Regions from separate parts of the Homo sapiens genome. Here regions 1, 3, 4, 5 and 6 are each linked to region 2. The links are contacts of gene promoters, found by promoter capture Hi-C in human tissues and cell types (Jung and others, 2019). All regions are on one chromosome and are shown on one strand. Each heading gives the region's core, a stretch centred on a gene start or on the middle of the fragment in contact. The rest is flanking DNA. Distances are from core to core; before and after follow the strand shown. Region 1 overlaps MEIS2 (Meis homeobox 2). Region 2 holds the start of DPH6 (diphthamine biosynthesis 6). Region 3 overlaps MEIS2 (Meis homeobox 2). Region 4 has its middle 140 kb from the start of MIR8063. Region 5 overlaps MEIS2 (Meis homeobox 2). Region 6 overlaps CDIN1 (CDAN1 interacting nuclease 1).

What was found. The method cuts DNA at HindIII sites, captures the fragments that hold promoters and counts their contacts. A contact is called where the count stands out against the background at its distance.
Region 1: a contact is called between a fragment that was not itself captured here and the fragment with the promoter of DPH6 in region 2, in 1 of the 25 tissues and cell types used here (dorsolateral prefrontal cortex).
Region 3: a contact is called between a fragment that was not itself captured here and the fragment with the promoter of DPH6 in region 2, in 3 of the 25 tissues and cell types used here (dorsolateral prefrontal cortex, lymphoblastoid cells and spleen).
Region 4: a contact is called between a fragment that was not itself captured here and the fragment with the promoter of DPH6 in region 2, in 2 of the 25 tissues and cell types used here (dorsolateral prefrontal cortex and lymphoblastoid cells).
Region 5: a fragment that was not itself captured here is called in contact with the fragment with the promoter of DPH6 in region 2 in 1 of the 25 tissues and cell types used here (spleen).
Region 6: a contact is called between a fragment that was not itself captured here and the fragment with the promoter of DPH6 in region 2, in 1 of the 25 tissues and cell types used here (dorsolateral prefrontal cortex).

The regions. Positions count from the first base shown.
Region 1 is chr15:37,062,358-37,065,057 of GRCh38, reverse strand. All of the region lies in intron 7 of MEIS2 (Meis homeobox 2), which reads left to right. Among named protein-coding and RNA genes, the nearest start is that of MEIS2, 37 kb to the left of the region's middle. The HindIII fragment of the contact is 4,894 bases long and covers 1-2,700 here.
Region 2 is chr15:35,544,884-35,547,583 of GRCh38, reverse strand. It overlaps DPH6 (diphthamine biosynthesis 6), which reads left to right and starts at 1,419. Exons shown (of 9, transcript NM_080650.4): 1 at 1,419-1,465. The coding sequence starts at 1,443. DPH6-DT (DPH6 divergent transcript) reads right to left here and starts at 1,389. Exons shown (of 3, transcript NR_038251.1): 1 at 1,111-1,389. RefSeq lists silencers at 947-996, 1,297-1,436 and an enhancer at 1,484-2,418. The HindIII fragment of the contact is 5,169 bases long and covers 1-2,700 here.
Region 3 is chr15:36,918,269-36,920,968 of GRCh38, reverse strand. The region is part of intron 9 of MEIS2 (Meis homeobox 2); the gene reads left to right. Among named protein-coding and RNA genes, the nearest start is that of MIR8063, 53 kb to the left of the region's middle. The HindIII fragment of the contact is 5,263 bases long and covers 1-2,700 here.
Region 4 is chr15:36,834,784-36,837,483 of GRCh38, reverse strand. No RefSeq gene overlaps it. Among named protein-coding and RNA genes, the nearest start is that of MIR8063, 140 kb to the left of the region's middle. The HindIII fragment of the contact is 7,525 bases long and covers 1-2,700 here.
Region 5 is chr15:36,901,711-36,904,518 of GRCh38, reverse strand. The region is part of intron 9 of MEIS2 (Meis homeobox 2); the gene reads left to right. Among named protein-coding and RNA genes, the nearest start is that of MIR8063, 70 kb to the left of the region's middle. The HindIII fragment of the contact is 6,207 bases long and covers 1-2,808 here.
Region 6 is chr15:36,667,441-36,670,288 of GRCh38, reverse strand. All of the region lies in intron 5 of CDIN1 (CDAN1 interacting nuclease 1), which reads right to left. It overlaps LOC124903466 (a long non-coding RNA gene), which reads left to right. Exons shown (of 3, transcript XR_007064582.1): 3 at 1,193-1,391. Among named protein-coding and RNA genes, the nearest start is that of CDIN1, 89 kb to the right of the region's middle. The HindIII fragment of the contact is 5,881 bases long and covers 1-2,848 here.

The DNA.
Region 1 (2,700 bases), core at 33-2,532, 1.5 Mb before region 2:
TTACATCATGAGTGATCATAGGAATGAGAATGATATTTCAGCATAATTTCAAAATCACGTAGTATCCTATGTTCAAAGTTTTCTGTGCTAAAGATCTAAAAAGCACATTTTGAAAATATCTAGTTATCTTTGGCTCAACATTTCAATGGGAATTAGTTGCCTAAGAAATGATACCAGACAATAGATAATTTATTCCCTCTTTAGAAATGTTGTAGTTGTTTGTTGATTTTTACTCACTGGATTGGGTTTGTGGTTTAAAGAGAAGTTAATCCTGACTTTCTTAAAACCTATAGAGTTTCAGGATTTCTTAAAGACAATGGCTTTTGATACTCCAATCCAATCCATTTTCCCATGCGTAAGTGTTCTTATAACCTTCCTTTGCTCAAGTTCTAGGACAATGTCGATGGTGTCTACACAGTTAAAATTAATTTGAAAGTTGACCAATTATTCAATTATTTTGACTAATGAAAATCAAAAATAGTATTCCATTTTGCATAGCAGTAAGAAATTAGCCTAAATGTAACTAATCAATTCACTTTGCCTGTGCAAATATGTTTTATTGTATCATTTGCTGTAAGGATTGCTAATATTATTCATAATGTCCTTTTTATTTTAAACTTTTATAAGTGATATGGTTTTTTGTTTACAATTGGGGTCATATATATTACTACATATTTACGTTGTAAATATGTTTTTATGTAAATATACAAAAGAAAAATAGAAAAAATAGAGATTTCTTATCAGCATTATATACTAACGTAGTATCTGCATTGCTGGTTTGCTTTCTGTCCTGAAAATAAGTGGATATGTACACAGATGTCTTTAATTTCCTAGTTTTCTATTTAGTTGATATATTGTATGGAGACACAAATGAGGTATTTTCTCTCTTTTGATATCTTAAGTTTTAAAATATGTTATTTTATTTTGGTTGAGATAATGTGTAAGTTATCACTGGACCTTAAGTTCTATTTAGTTTTTGCTTTTACAGACTAAATGCTGTCTTCGCATATCATTACTTAACCCACCATAAAATCCTTCTGATCAAGTTTTTCATATATGGGACAAAAAAATCGTTTTGTTTCAAATCTTGACCAGTTCTAGCCTAAGAACTGTTTGACTTAAGCAAGAATTTCAACACAGATCTTGCAGCTTAACACCCATTGGTGAAGAAATATTTTCTCTTTATATTAGTTCATTTTTCATGGCTTCTTTATAGTGTCATATGCTATTAGGAAGGAGAAAAGCTAATGTGATATGTGAACTAATTTCTTGTTTAAAAATTTTAAAGAGTGCCATCTGGAATTCAATCACCATCTTTCCAGATACTAGCTTTATCGTAATCTGAGACTCAGTTCTATTTGATTATTACCATTGATAGACAGAAAAAAGTGCTAGATCAAGGAAAAGTACCTATGATATGTATACCCAAATATGGCAGCAATAGCAAGATTATCATCATTATTATAGCTAATGCTTGACAGCTACTCTATGCCCAACATTGTGCTGTACGTTTAGTATAATTTAATCCTCATAAGCTTGTGTGGGTTTTTCAGTTGGGAAAACTGAGGCTTAGAGAGACTAAGAAACTTCCCTTTACCTGGAATATCTAGAAAGTGGTGGGGCTAAGATTGTAAATCAGGTCTATCTAATCCCTAAATCCAGACACTTAACCAGGGTACCACACCCTGTCTGCAAGAAAAGTTGTCAAATGATGTCGGATACCTAGCAGTCCTGCACAGTAGTGCACGCCAGTAATCCCATCTATTTGGGAGGCTGAGGCAGGAAGATCACCTGAGGCCAGAAGTTTGCGTCCACCCTGAGCAACATAGTGAGACCTTATCTCTAAAAGAAAAAACAAAATGCTCTTAGATACCTGTTGTCAGACCTAAAATATGGGCTAGAGATGTTCCCTCATTCTGAAAGCTTCAGGTGGGTTTTGGTATTTTCTATCATATGCCTGGACATTTCAGTAAAGTTGTTTTGATGCTTTCTAGGTCATAATGGTAACGGAGATCAGCTCTTTTCTAAAAATCCACCCTGTAAGTATTGATTTGGTGACAGGCTTGTAATGCCATATATGGTTTTAGAAAATTACTGATAGTTTGGAATTGCCATACTGAAGAGACGTCTTACCCCATCCTTGAAGATGAACATTTCTCTGACATCATTTCAAGTGTCAAGTGAACAAAGTTTTCTAAGCTACTGATCTTGATGAACAGGATGATGATTAAGGCACAGAAATCACTGGTTTCCAATTTTTAAAAATACATTCCAAAAACATATGGCACATAACAGAATTCAACAGAAGAAGGTAAATTTGGTTAAATTCTTCAGGGGTCCTTATATGTAAATTTGATGCCATACAGTTGCCCTCACTAGGATAAAATTAGAATTTGTGAAGGATCTGATTGGAATTTCTCCTGGGAAGTTGTAGAGGATGAGCATGGATATTTGTTTTGATTTAAATATTGGCCTGTTCAATCTCCATGATCGTAGGACAAGATCACTGACAAAGCAAGAAGACAGTAAAGTTGTACGTTTCCGTCTTCTTTGTGAAAGATCTCTCCTTCTGTCTCTTTGACTACATCCTTGGAGTATACCATCCCTTCTGTGGCCTTATGTTTTTGCAACTAAAACTTTATTGATTTCTACTGCTTATTACAAGTTTTGACATAGAAGGAGGGACATTCACAAATGATT
Region 2 (2,700 bases), core at 170-2,669:
TGGCATAATTTTAAGTTCCCTACATATATTAACTTACTTAATTCATGCCTTTGGCATCATCCCTCATGACTTTCTTTCTCTTGTATCCCATATCGAATTTGATTCTATTGGCTCTATCTTCAAAATAGAGCTGGAATCCTCTTACTTCTCACCAAATTCACCATGTTGATTCTAGGCTCCGCCATCTCTCTACTGGAACACTGTAACAGCTTCCTAATAGGTGGATTCTCAACACTGCAATCCTTTTAAAATTTTAAGTCACACCCTTCAAAAGTCTGCAATTACCTACAAGACCCTATATAATCCTTCCCCTCCATCACCTTAACCTGCTCTCCACTACTCTCTGCTTTGCTCAATCTGCTCCAGCAACACGGATCTGCCTTAATCTTCCACAAACACACAACGCACCTAGAGCCTTCGATTTTTTTTTCTTGTCTGGAGCACACCCCAATCATACACATAGCGAACTCTCCTTATTTAAATTGGCTCAACTCTCATCTTACCAATAAGGCCTACATAGACACGATTTAATTCTGCAATTTGCCTCTCCACCTCTCTCCTGACTCTCCCCCACCGCACCCCGCCCCTTTCCAATAGCACTTTTCACTCTTCAACAGACTATTTACCTTTAAGATATGTATTGTCTGTTCTCTCCATCCCCATTTAAGCTCTATGCCCGGAATGCCGGGTTTTTGTTTTATTTACGGTTGTATCCACAGAGTCTAAAACAGTGCCTGGTACACGAAAGGCACTCAATACATACTTGGCAAATAAACTTAGAAGCTAGATTTTCTTTCTGCAAGGCCATTGCTCTTTGGTGAAGAGCCTGGCCTGGCCTTGTCAAATACACAAGCTTGACCAAGAGCCAAAGCCACAGAGGGCCTAGAGGTGGGGGGGGCTAGCCCCAGATTTAAAAATTACCACAGCCCCTGGGGATCTGAGTTTCACATCTGGACACACAGGTTTGGAGGACAGAGGAGATGTAAGTTAAAAAGCAGAAGTGTACAGTTGTTTCTGTTCTGTGGGGTGAGGAAGGACAAATTTCTTCTGCGCTTGCACGTCCGCAACTGTGTCAATTTGCAGCAATTGGGACGCTAAATCCCCTCTTACCAAAACAAATCCTGCGCCACTGGGCTTGGGCTCTGCAACGCGGACCTTGCCCTTCCCCCGGCAGCTTCAGTGCCCTCACTTAGGTGGTTAGGCCGTGCCTAAACCTCATTCTTTCCTGGGCCGAGATGTCCCTGCCACAGGGTCAAGGTGCCAAGGTGCCGCACCCTCCGCGCTCAGGTGTCCCGCAGGCAGCCGCGGGGCTCGCAGCGCCGATCCGCGGACAGGCGGCGGAGCGAACACCCGGGCGAGGCCCCGCGGTGCGTCACGCGAGCTGCGGCGCGACCTCCTGGCTCCCGCCCGCGCTCGCCGCACGCACGCGCACTGCGCCCAGCATGAGGGTCGCGGCTCTGATCAGGTAATGCGGTCCTGGAGCCGCCTCCTTCCTCCTAGGCCAGGCTCTCGTCCCTTCCAGCCGCCGCTAGCGCCGAAAGAGTGGGTGTCTCCGTCTGAGTCGCGCGTTGGGGGTTCCGCGGCTCCTCCGAGCCACAGGAAGAGGCGGAGCCTTCGCTGTTGCCGGCCCGCATGTGCCTCGGCCCCTGGCTGGCGCGCCTCCTCCCTGTCTGTCGCTCTCTGGTCTTCTAGCCCTTAAACTTGGATTCCCATTGGATTCAAGTGGGAAATTAAAAAAAGTACCGACGCCTGGGCCCCACCGCCAGAGGGATTGGTTTAATTACTTCTGTGCGACCCGGCGTCTGATTTTTTTTTTTCAAGCTCTAATGAGCCGTGAAGTTTGGAGCCACTACCTTATTCCATCAACTCAGTTAATAACCCTCGCCCTTTCCCCCTCGCTTTCTTCGTCCTCTTCTGTAGTTCCTTTGGTCAGCTGGGTCCGCCGCAGCCTGGCTTCCTCCCTAGTTGTAAGTGTTTCCGCCCATCCCAAGAAGTCCACCCCTCCCTCATCTTCACAGATGTGGATTGCTTATGGCATGTGTGTGTTTCTGCCTTTGGGCACTCAAGTACAGAGATCTCTCTTCGTGGTAGAGACCGAATTGTACTAGTCTTATGCTAGATCCAGTTGCTGTTGCTTCGGACTCTCATCATTGCTTTAGAGTGACCTTACCCTATACTCCGTATTCCAAAAGGAGTTTGATGTCTGTAGTAACCAAATCATAAATTTAAGTGTCTAAATAAGTCCTGTGACTGACAAACCAAAAACAAACCTGCTTAAATATTTCCATACTCAATCTATAAACTGAGGCAGAAGGGAACACACTAGCAACATTAAAAAGTTAGACTACTTAAATACTTGTTTCATGAGATTTTGCCCTGTAGAGTGTCTTAGATACAGTGCAACGATGTGCTTGCTTTTGTAATCCAATTGAAGATTTCATAAACGTTTTCGTTAAGTCCCTTAGGTAATTGATACTGGCTGTAAGTTTTGACCTATTAAGGACTTGATATGAGATTTCAGACCTACTGTAGTGTCTGGAATATTCCGGTTCCCTTTCCTTCAATGTCATTTTTAGGAGACTAGACCATAATGTCACAATAATTATTGTTGTTCAGTAAATGTCCTCTGTAACATAAATGATTAAGCTTTAACCATTGTGTCTTATTTTAAGAATTAAAAGTACCCCAGGAAGTGAATAA
Region 3 (2,700 bases), core at 89-2,588, 1.4 Mb before region 2:
ACCTTTGGGGTGTGCTTTTACCAATAGAAAACAAGATCTGTTACCTCCCGGCCGTGAGCGCTGGTTAAATTTCAGCTTCCACCCATATTTGTCAGACTGGTCAGTTCCAGTCTAGGTAAAGGATGTAGAACAACAGATTCCACATGACTTCCATAGTAGTTTTTCTTTTTAAATTTAAGGACTTGATTACTTTATAACTTTTTATTGTTTTATCCTCAGAACACAGGTGATTCAGAGAGTATAGTTCTCATACACTAAGTCAAGACTGTATTCCTACTGTCTTCATTTGGTGAAAATGAGAAATAAGAGATTGTTATCTGCCAAAGGAAGCATGGAGGTCCATTTTCCCACATTTGTGATCCGTAAGTCATCATCCCATGTGGGCTCAACTTAAAGGATTTTTAGCAGACCTGTTTTTATTTATCAGTGAAACAGGTTCTGCATCATTCTCCCCTTTAGCCTTCTAAGATCTCTAAGAATTCTTTTATAAAAAGAAAAAGGTGGTACCTGAAGATCAGTATAGACCGGGCGCCGTGGCTCACGCCTGTAATCCCAGCACTTTGGGAGGCCGAGGCGGGTGGATCACCTGAGGTCGGGAGTTCGAGACCAACCTGACCAATGTGGAGAAACCCTGTCTACTAAAAATACAAAACTAGCCGGGCGTGGTGGCGCATGCCTGTAATCCCAGCTACTAGGGAGACTGAGGCAGGAGAATCGCTTGAACCCGGGAGGTGGAGGTTGCGGTGAGCCAAGATTGAGCCATTGTACTCCAGCCTGGGCAACAAGAGTGAAACTCTGTCAAAATAAAAATAAATAAATAAATAAATAAATAAATAAATAAATAAATAAAAGCAGTATAGGTTGCTAAGTGTTGCTGGGACTTTAATCTCCAGCCTCCATTTCTTCTTGTTTTTCTTATTCCAGCATCAGTATCCATGCTCCAATGACTATGTAGTTTAACTTCCTTCATCCTTGACTTCAAGGAACAATAACTAGAAGGGTATGTTGTTCTTACGTGCCTAAATATTTGGACGAATAATTTGTGAGCTCTAAATAAAGATCCACCTATTGTGTTTATGCTCATCCATGTCAGTGGAAGGAGAAAATGATACTCTGAAAGACAAAATCTAGCAAGATAGCTTAAAATTCAGGCTATCTCACTTATTACTTGCTCTATTTCATCTACATTCTAATAATGGGTCATTGTAGATAAAATACCAAGTGCAAGTCAATAACACAAATTTTAATGTTCATCCTCCAATGTTTAGGTGATTATAGAAATTAGTGCTATGACTGGACCACTGTACACATAAACTAGCCACTAATCAGAATTCTTTTGGTAATATTGAGGATTTTTTAAATTACTGTTTCCAATTTTTTTTTTTTTTTTTGAGACGGAGTTTCACTCTTGTTGCCCAGGCTAGAGTGCAGTGGCGCAATCTCGACTCCCACAACTTCTGCCTCCCGGGTTCAACAGATTCTCCTGCCTCAGCCTCCTGAGTAGCTGGGATTACAGGCATGTGCCACCACGCCCAGCTAATTTTGTATTTTTGGTAGAGACAGGGTTTCTCCATGTTGGTCAGGCTGGTCTCAAACTCCTGACCTCAGGTGATCCACCCAACTTGGTCTCCCAAAGTGCTGGGGTTACAGGTGTGACCCACCGTGCCTGTCCCTCCAAAATTTCTTAAGTACATAAAACATTGATAATATTTGTACAAGTATTTGTCCAAAAATTTATCCAAATATGCCCATTATTTGGATAAATCTTTATTTATTTATTTATTTTTGGAGACAGAGTCTCCCTCTGTTACCTTGGCTGGACTACAGTGGCATGGTCATAGCTCACTGCAGCCTCAAACTCCTAGGATCACGTGATTTTTCCCACCTCAGTCTGCAGAGTAGCTGGGACTCAAACTCCTAAACTCAAGCAATCCTCCTGCCTCTAGGCCTCCCAAAGTGGTGGAATTACAGGCATGAGCCAATGTGCCTGGCCTAAAATCTTTAATCTTTACAATTACGAGGTAGGTATCATCTCCATTTTACAGATGAGAAATGGTGAGTCAGAGAGGTCATGTAGCTGAGAAATTGCACCAGCAGAATTCAAACTTACCACCTAACTTCAGTCCGGTACCTTTTCTACTAAGCTTATGACTAGGAGTACTTGCTCTATCTGTGCATTTACTTAAGTAGTTTTCTCTATCTGGTATGTTCTCTCTCCTTCTGTCCTTCCCATTCCCTCCTGTCAGAATCCTTCAAGGAAGGGCCCAAAGCTTCCTCTCCTCCTCCCGCTCTCATCCAGGTTATCTCCACCTTTTCTGCACACCCATGGCCACTCTTCTGGCATTGAGACTCTTTCATCTTATTGCATGGTTATTGCTTTACCGCTAAACTCCAACCTTTCTGAGAGCAAGACTAAATCTTCTTCATCCATGTATGCCTTGCAGTGTCTACAGGATTGTAAGCATTAACATTTATTTGTAGAATTTTTTAAATATGTTTCCTTGTAATTCTCACCTACTGTTCTGATGTCTTTACAATACAAATTGGACTTCACATTGCATCTTCAGGTTAAGTCTTTGAAGTAGACTATATAATTTATTCTCATTTTACATTTGAGGAGATTAAGCCACAGAAAAGTTAAAGAACTTGTCCAAAATCACTCAGTAAGAGATATAGCCAGAGTTCAAACCCAGATTTCCA
Region 4 (2,700 bases), core at 63-2,562, 1.3 Mb before region 2:
TTACTTGTCTCTTACCTTGATGACACCCTAGTTCTACAACAGTAGGGTCTTGTTATTCTTCTTTGCATCCTCAGTGTCTAGCATAAGACTTGACACATTGTAGGTGTTCTATAAATGTTTATTAAATTAATGAATAGAGGAATGGATTACTGAATAAGTGATGGAATGAATTAATAAATCACTTACCTCTGGTCAATGAGAGAGAGAACCAGATTCTCTTGTCCTGTTGAAAATACGGGTGATTTCCACATTTTTACCAGTTGTTATGGGTTGAGTTGTATCCCTTCCAAATAACTCCTAGTACCTCAAAATGTGACTACATTTGGAAGTAAGGTCATTGCAGATGTAATTAGTTAAGATGAAGTCATAAAGGAACAGCATGGGCCACTAATTCAACGTGACTGATGTCTTTATAAGAAAACGGTCATCTGAAGATAGAGATACACAGGGAGATAACGCATGATAACAAAGGCAGAGATTGGAGTAATGAAGCTGCAAGCCAAGGAATGCTAAAGATTGTCAGCAAACCACCAGAAACTAGAAGAGGCAAGGAAGGGTTCCCTTACAGTTCTCAGAGGGAGAGTGGCTTTGCCAATGCCTTGATTTTAGACTTCTGGTCTCTGGAATTGTGAGACAATAAATTTCTGTTGTTTTAAGCCACTCAGTTTGTGGTATTTTGTTATAGTTGTCCTTGGAAACTAAGACACTCTCTAAGCTCACTTTTAAATGTGGGGATTGCTTTTATGTAATTTTCCTTCATTTAATTATGATAATATGCACAATTCACTTCAATTTGTTAATGTTCACAATGTTTCTAAACAATGCTTCTCTCAAATATTTCAAATAAATACTTCAAATGTGAATGTCATATTTATCAGTAACACCGCTGACCTAAAAAAATGGTCCTACCAGAGCAGTATTAAGGATAGTCCCTACCTGGCACCAGAGCATTAAAGTCTCAGTAATCAGAGTTAATACAGTTTTTGAAAAAAATCAACTATTTGGGGATGTCATTTACATACAATAAAAATGAATCAATTTTAAGAGAAAAGTACAACAATTTGTTTATCCATTTACATGTTGATGGATGTTTGAGCTGTTTCCAGTTTTTGGCTACTATGAATTAAGTTCATATAAATGTTCATTACAAGTCTTTGTGTTGACACATGTTTTCATTTCTCTTGGATAAATATCCAAGGGTGGAATTGCTGGATCATAGGGTAAATGTATGTTTAAAATTTTAAGAAATTTTTAAACTGTCTAAGTGTTGCACCGTTTTACCTCCCCACTAACAATGTATGAAAATTTCAATTTTTCCATATTCTCCCCAAATCTCGATATTGTCAGTCTTTAAAACTTTGGCTATTCTAATGGGTGTGTATATTTTGTGGTTTTTATTTGCATTTTTCCTAATGACTAATAATGTTGAACACTTTTTCTCGTACTTATTGGCCATTTGTACATATTCTTTTGTGAAGTACCTGTTCAAATCATTTGCCCAGCTTCTAAACCTAGAGAGCTTGTCTTCTTACAACCCCTGAGTTGTAAGTGTTTTTAAAATACATATCCTGGATACAAATCTTTGTCAAATATGTTTTGTAAACATTTTCTCCTAGGCTATGGTTTGCCTTTTCTTTTTATTAGTGGTGTGTTTCAAAGAACAGAAGTTTTTCATTTCATTGAAGTCCAATTTATCATTTCTCTATCATGATACATGCTTTTTGTGGTTTATCTAAGAAATCTTTGTCAAGATCAAATAATCTTTTTGTCTTATTTAAAAAATAATTTCATAAATTTATCTTTCATGTTTAGGCTCTGATCCATTTTGAGTTAATTTTTGCATATGGTGTGAGGCAGGGGGTCTAGATTTCCTTCTCCTTATAAATGTATAGTTGTTCCAGCATTATATTTTGAAATACCTATGTTTTCTGCATTGAATTGCCTCAGCACATTTGTCAAAAATCAGTTGGCATTTAAGTCTGGGTCTATTTCCAGACTCTCTAGTCTGTTCTATTGATCTATGTGTCTATTTAGCACACTGCCTTGATTCCTGAAGCTCTATACTAAGTCTTGAAGTTAGGTAGATTAGTTCTTCAATTTCATTTTTCTTTTTCAAAATCGTCTCGGTTATTCTAGGTCCATTGCATTTCAATGTTAATTTCAGAATTAACCCATCAACTTCTAGAAAAAAAAACACTGCTGGTATTTTGCTTAAGATTGCATTGAGTCTATTGACCAATTTGTTGAGAACTGACATCTTAACAACATTAAGTCTTCAGATTCATGAATCTGATATTATTTATTTCAGACTTCTTTGTTTTTCTCAGTAGGAATTAACATATTTAAAAATAGTTTTTGTTAAAGTTTATTTCTCAAAGACAAACTATAATTCTTCCTTTTGTGACTTGGGTCTTGTTATACCCTGAGCAGGACAATGTATGGACTACTGAAAACAAAGGCAGAACCAAGAAAAATCAAACCATTCTGATATTGGTCATAAGTAATTTCTCTTCCTTCTTCCACGTAATAATAATGTTCATAGAATAAAATTGGATTATTTTACAATGGAGATGCAATTGACTTACAGAGATTACTTTTTCTTTTATAGTCAGAAAAAATGATGACAATACACGCACACAAAAAGAAATAACTACAGGTCTCTAAATTTTAACATTACAGGTATGAATTTAGTTAATATGA
Region 5 (2,808 bases), core at 244-2,743, 1.4 Mb before region 2:
AAATTTGCTGTCAGAAAAAATGGAGCATTCTTTCTGAACTCAGGAGCGTGTGGTTCATGCGAGCTTCCTTGTAGATGGTTGCTACAATAAGGCTTCTTTCATACAGGTGTGTTTATGCCCCAGGCTTGCTGGCCACAGTCCATTCCATTTACAGAAGCTGAATTAAACAATAACTACTGCATTGCAAAAAATGGTGGGGGTGGGAGGAAGGGGAGGGGGAAAGGTGAGCGTCAAAGGAGATGCCTGAGAGCTTTGTTAGGGCCAAGAAAAACCCTGTTGCAGTTGTCAGAGCTTGTTGATGTTGCTGGGAACGGCACTTTTTTTTTCTCCTGGATTTTGTGGTTCTGCCTTAGGAAAGAAAGTAAAATAGAACGGAAGAACAAAGTCCTACTCTATAAATCAGCAGCTGCTCCTTGCCAGATCAAAGGAGTGACATTTTTGCTCCTGGACTACTTGTCCACTTGAGGGCTTGACAGGCAGCTAACAGCTGGCCTGCTAGACTGTATGGGAGAATCAGCCTACATCTTCTTCTGAGCAGATGACAAGCTAATCAGAGACATATCCATAGCACAGGGCATGTGAGTGCACCTTGATCTCTTCAAACATATCTAATACATAATTGCTAAACAGCTTGGTGCATTTTTGGCCAGTTAATGCTTAGGTGGTTTCCATTAAGAAGTAGGATAGAGAATTAATACTTCAATCAAAGGTGATCATGAAAGCTAAAAAGCTACTAGATTTGTTGGGATCTTTTCCTCTTACAGTAAAATGGCTAGGAACATAATGGGAGTTGGCTAAGAATGTGTGCAACTGATTGTGAAGTGACTGGTTGATTTGCAAAGCCAGGTCAGGCTACAGTGCTCAGATACAGAATAGGTAATTAGAAATCAGTAGTTTTGAAAATGATTGTGCCTGCTTTTTATGTTGATAGAGTTAAATAAACTTGTAGGTGTACCTTCTGTGTCTGCAAAAAGTTATTTTCAGAAGCACTGTAAGGTGTGTAGGTATCCAGATCTGGAATTTTAATGTCAGTAGTAAAAGTTTCAAAGTAATTCAGTTTCTAGTTGACTTCCATCTGCAATAAATCATGTACAGGATGAGGTAATATACTACAACTTATGTCTATTGACTTAGGATTTTATCTTTAAGAGGATAGATCCTAGATGTGAATAGCTAAGGAAGTTTGAGTGTTTTCTCCTCCCTTGCTTTCAAATAGCTTTGAAAGATCACTTTTATAGTGCATGATAAATAGCTACATATGAATAATCTGATGGCATTCTGTAAGAGTAACAGTGCTTCAAAATCGTAACCTGCTGGGATGTTTTGTTACATGCCATCAAGTGTGATTGTATTCATGGAATAGTGTTTACTGTTGCTCAATATTGTAAAGGAAATAAAAGATAATTCCCTATCTGAGGGGAAATTTCTCAAATATTTTAATTAAAAGGTCCCTACAGTTACCCATATAAACCTTAGTCAAATAAGATAACAAATTTTCTTGATCTCCTTTAAAAATTCTTTTATGTATAAAAATAATTATATTTATTAAAAACTCCAACAGTACAGAATTATTTGGAAAAAAAGATAGAAATCTACCATTCTCCTATCCATGCCTGAGAGATAGCCTCTGTTAACAGTCTTCACAAAAACATTTTACTGGCCCAGCTTTTCCTTTAAGAGGTACAGATGGAGTACAATAAATTAAATTATTATAAAGTGTTTATTGCCCAAGGCAAGTGAGTAAAAGGCTGTTTAGATCTAAGATACCTAAAGAGAAGAGTATGTGCATTTTTTTGCAGCTGAGATTCACAATTAAAACTTGATCTTTGCAAGTTTCTATTCTTAAGCAGAGCACTAGAATTTGATATGTGATCTAGAGCAAGGCTTCTCATACTTAAATGTACATAAATCCCTTGGAGATCTTTTAAAATGCAGAATCAGATTCAGTAGCACAGGAATGGGGACGGTAATGTATTTCTGCATCTCTAACAAGCTCAAGGTGATGTTGCTACTGGTCCATGGCACACATGTAAAGTAGCAAGGATCTAGAGAACCATACAGAGAGTGTGATTCCAAAAGAGCTCACTCCCCTATCCACCTCCCACCCCTGCAGGCAGATGCCTGCCCCAGTGTCTAAAATCTCCACCATAGCATTGTACATTTGGATTAAACTCCGATTTTTAGAAAGATCCGGCGATATGAACACACGCTACCTGTAGGAGTACAACACAGTTATTACCCTGTGGCCAATCCAGCATAGATTTGTTTAACAGCCACCCACCTATTCCTAATTACTATCTATGAGAGAACAGAGCTATTTAGGAGCATTGGATAGGTGCATTTTGACTGTAAGCTAACATTTAATGAGCTTGCTATGTGCCAGGCATTGTGCTAAGGATCTTGCATACAAAATCTCCCTCAATCCTCAAAACCACCCAGGCCCAGTTATTTCCTCAGTTTACAGATAGGAAACAGAGTGAAGCTTGGGAAGGTTAAGAAGAACTGTCCAAATTCACACAGCAAATAAAGGGCAGAGGACATGAGCCCATGCTCTTCACCGTATTGCTCTATGCATAAGTCTGGAGTATACAACAATAATGGAGAAGGGCATGCTCAAAGTAGAGTATTTTAGTAAAGAACCTCCAGGAGCCCTTGTAACTTTAGGGAAGAATTAGATGAAAGTAAGAATATTGAAAGAAGACAGTAGAAGGCCATCACTTACTTGATAATTTTGTCCAGGGCCTTTTATGTCAGCATGAACACTCCATTATTCAAGCCATATTCATAAAGGTACAAAATGTTGTGATT
Region 6 (2,848 bases), core at 37-2,536, 1.1 Mb before region 2:
TAGCAGACAAGGATATATGTTTGCTCAGTTTATGGGTAACACAGACAAGAGAAGAAGGAGTATGGAATTAAAAGAAAAAATTAAAATGTATGCTACAAATTTAAGTTCTAAATCTAAATAAAAGTTGTTTAGTGGGACTGTATCTCAAAATTATACATATATGTAAGTTCAAATATAAAAATGATAAATAAACAGGGAGAGGAGACTAAACTTCCTTACAGAAGAAACCCAAATAATATCTCTCCACACTCCTCTCTCCAGAAGGCAGAGTTTAATCATTCTCCTCAACTTGAGTGTGTACTAAATTTAGTGACTTGCTTCCAAAGAAGAGAGTATGGAAAGGGAAAAATAGTAATTTTACAATGGAGAAATCTAGCAAACACTAACCTAACCAACAGATTAAGGTTAACATAACCAGTGATAAATCATGTTGATACCACATACCCCTTGATATGATATAATGATAAGGGAACTTCACCTTATTCTTCCCCAAATCTATGAGAAAAACCTTAGACACATCCAAATTGAAGGCATTATGCAGAATATCCTCTGCAAAAACATCATGACCATCAAAAACAAGAAAAGATTGCTTTCACACACCAGAGGAGACTTGGGAAACAAGACAGCTAAATGTAATGTGGAATCCTGGATTGGGTACTGGTGAAATTTGAATTACGTCTGGAGTGCAATCAATAATAGTAAGGTACCAGTGAGGGTTTCTTAGTGTTGACAAATGTATCACAGTAATATAAGATGATAACATTAGGGATAACTAAAACTGAGTGATGGATATAGGCAGAACTCTCTGTACTATCTTTGCAACTTTTCTGTAAGTCTAAAATTATCCCAAAATAAAATTTTATTTTAAAAAAGTAAAAGCTTTCTATTAGACTTGCTTCTCCCAGAAATGACCTTATGACAAACTTAACCCTTTCATTACCACTAAAAACATCAACCCCTGTTACTTTTGAGAATGTTGGTTATAAGAATTCCAGAAGTATAAGATACAAGTATGGGTAATTACAGCAGGAAAAAAGTAAATTTCAATAGTGCATATGCAGATAGATCTAAACATATGCTGTTGTTTTGTTACTATAAGATATAATAAATTAGAAAACGAATTCAGGAAATTGAGGCCAGCCTCCATTCTATGTAGCTTTCATAAGACCATAATTAATTTCCGCCCATACAGAGCATCGTAAACATTATTTCAAGAGGTTTCCGAAAAGGATCTCTAAAATTATCAGAGAATTCACAATTCAAGAGTACCTAACGAAGAAGAAGGGAAATTAATCCTTCATATGGCTCAAGTGTAAGTATTTGTTGGAATATTACTGCCTATTACTATAAAAATCATGATTCTTTGAGTGCCTACTATGTGCCAAGTAACATGCCAGGCAATTTACAAAATCATCTTTAATCTGTTTAACTTTGAAAGGTAAATGTTGTTATCTGATTTTAAAGAAGAGCAAACTAGGGCTCTGGAAGACTTCACCCAGGATGACAGCTAGTATAGGATCAAACTGGGACTCCAACTCGACATATTGTGGAAATATGCACCAATGATAATAGGTGAGATTTAGGTAAAAAGAAGAAAAACTTTTATGACAGTAAGAGATGCTAAACACTTGGGCAATATCTAAACAATGCAGTCGATTTACATTCATTAAATAATGGAGAGAGGATGAATCTGAAATCAGAAGACACAGATTCTCCCACTCGTTCATTGCTTTTGTTTGTTCATTTGTGCATTCAGGCATGTAACAAGAGTAAGCAGGACATGTAGGCTTGGGTTTTCCAAGTTCAAGTCCCAGCTCTTGTCCTTTCTAACTGTATGACTAAGCTGGTCACTTAACCTGAAATTCAGTTTATCATTTATAAAATGCAATCATAACATTTGCCTTAGCTATGTCAGAGCTATTTATGTGTCAAATAAAATATATCAAAACTTCTTATAAACTATAAAGTTCTATTGAAATGTTTTACATGTTAGCTACAAAATTTCTTGATACCCTCTCAACCCTAGAGTCACAAGGAAATGGTAGGTACATTATCAACAAAATATTCACCTCAAGTCAACAAATATTTATGGATGTATCTAGGCAATGAACCAAGACAAGGAACACTGAGCCCAAGAAAAATTAGTCCTGTACTGATTATATAAAACATCTTCTCAGGCTGAAAAACAAAAACAAGAAATTGGAGATTAGGTGGCTTAGTGAAGAAGACAAAACATTTACCTACACATAATAATCAGTTTTAGCAAGAATAAGTTAGGGAATCCCCTTTAAAATACAAAGGTTAGCTTGTATACAATGACATCACAGATCAACTATAATCCAAGAGGCCAACACATAGGTCCTGAATGAAGCAGAAATTACCTACAATCTACTTGACGTGTTGTATTTTATGTTCTTGTAAAGAAAATAGCTCATATTGTCTGCATATTTTTATCTGGCTAATGAAAAAATACTATTCATATTTTCCAAGAATGTTGTTCATCAAGCTTCTTAAGCAAAATAGTATTAACAACTAAAATAAGAGCTATAAGGTGAAGCACAAAAGAAAAACTTCGTATCATCTCATTCTTAAATATATTAGCGTCTTCTCATGAATAAGAAGAAAAGTGGAATTCCTAAATTCTCAAACTGTGACGTAATATTGGTTTTATTGATTCTCTGTACAATTTGTAGGAGTACCCAATCATTATTTTGACAGTTTTATCATAAAGTAATAGACTTCCTTTTAGATAATTGGCAGTTACCACATTGAATTTCAACCTTCCATAGGATTTCTTCCTAGATACAGCTTTACTGTCTGTCCTAGATCACATTACTTTCTTTTTATA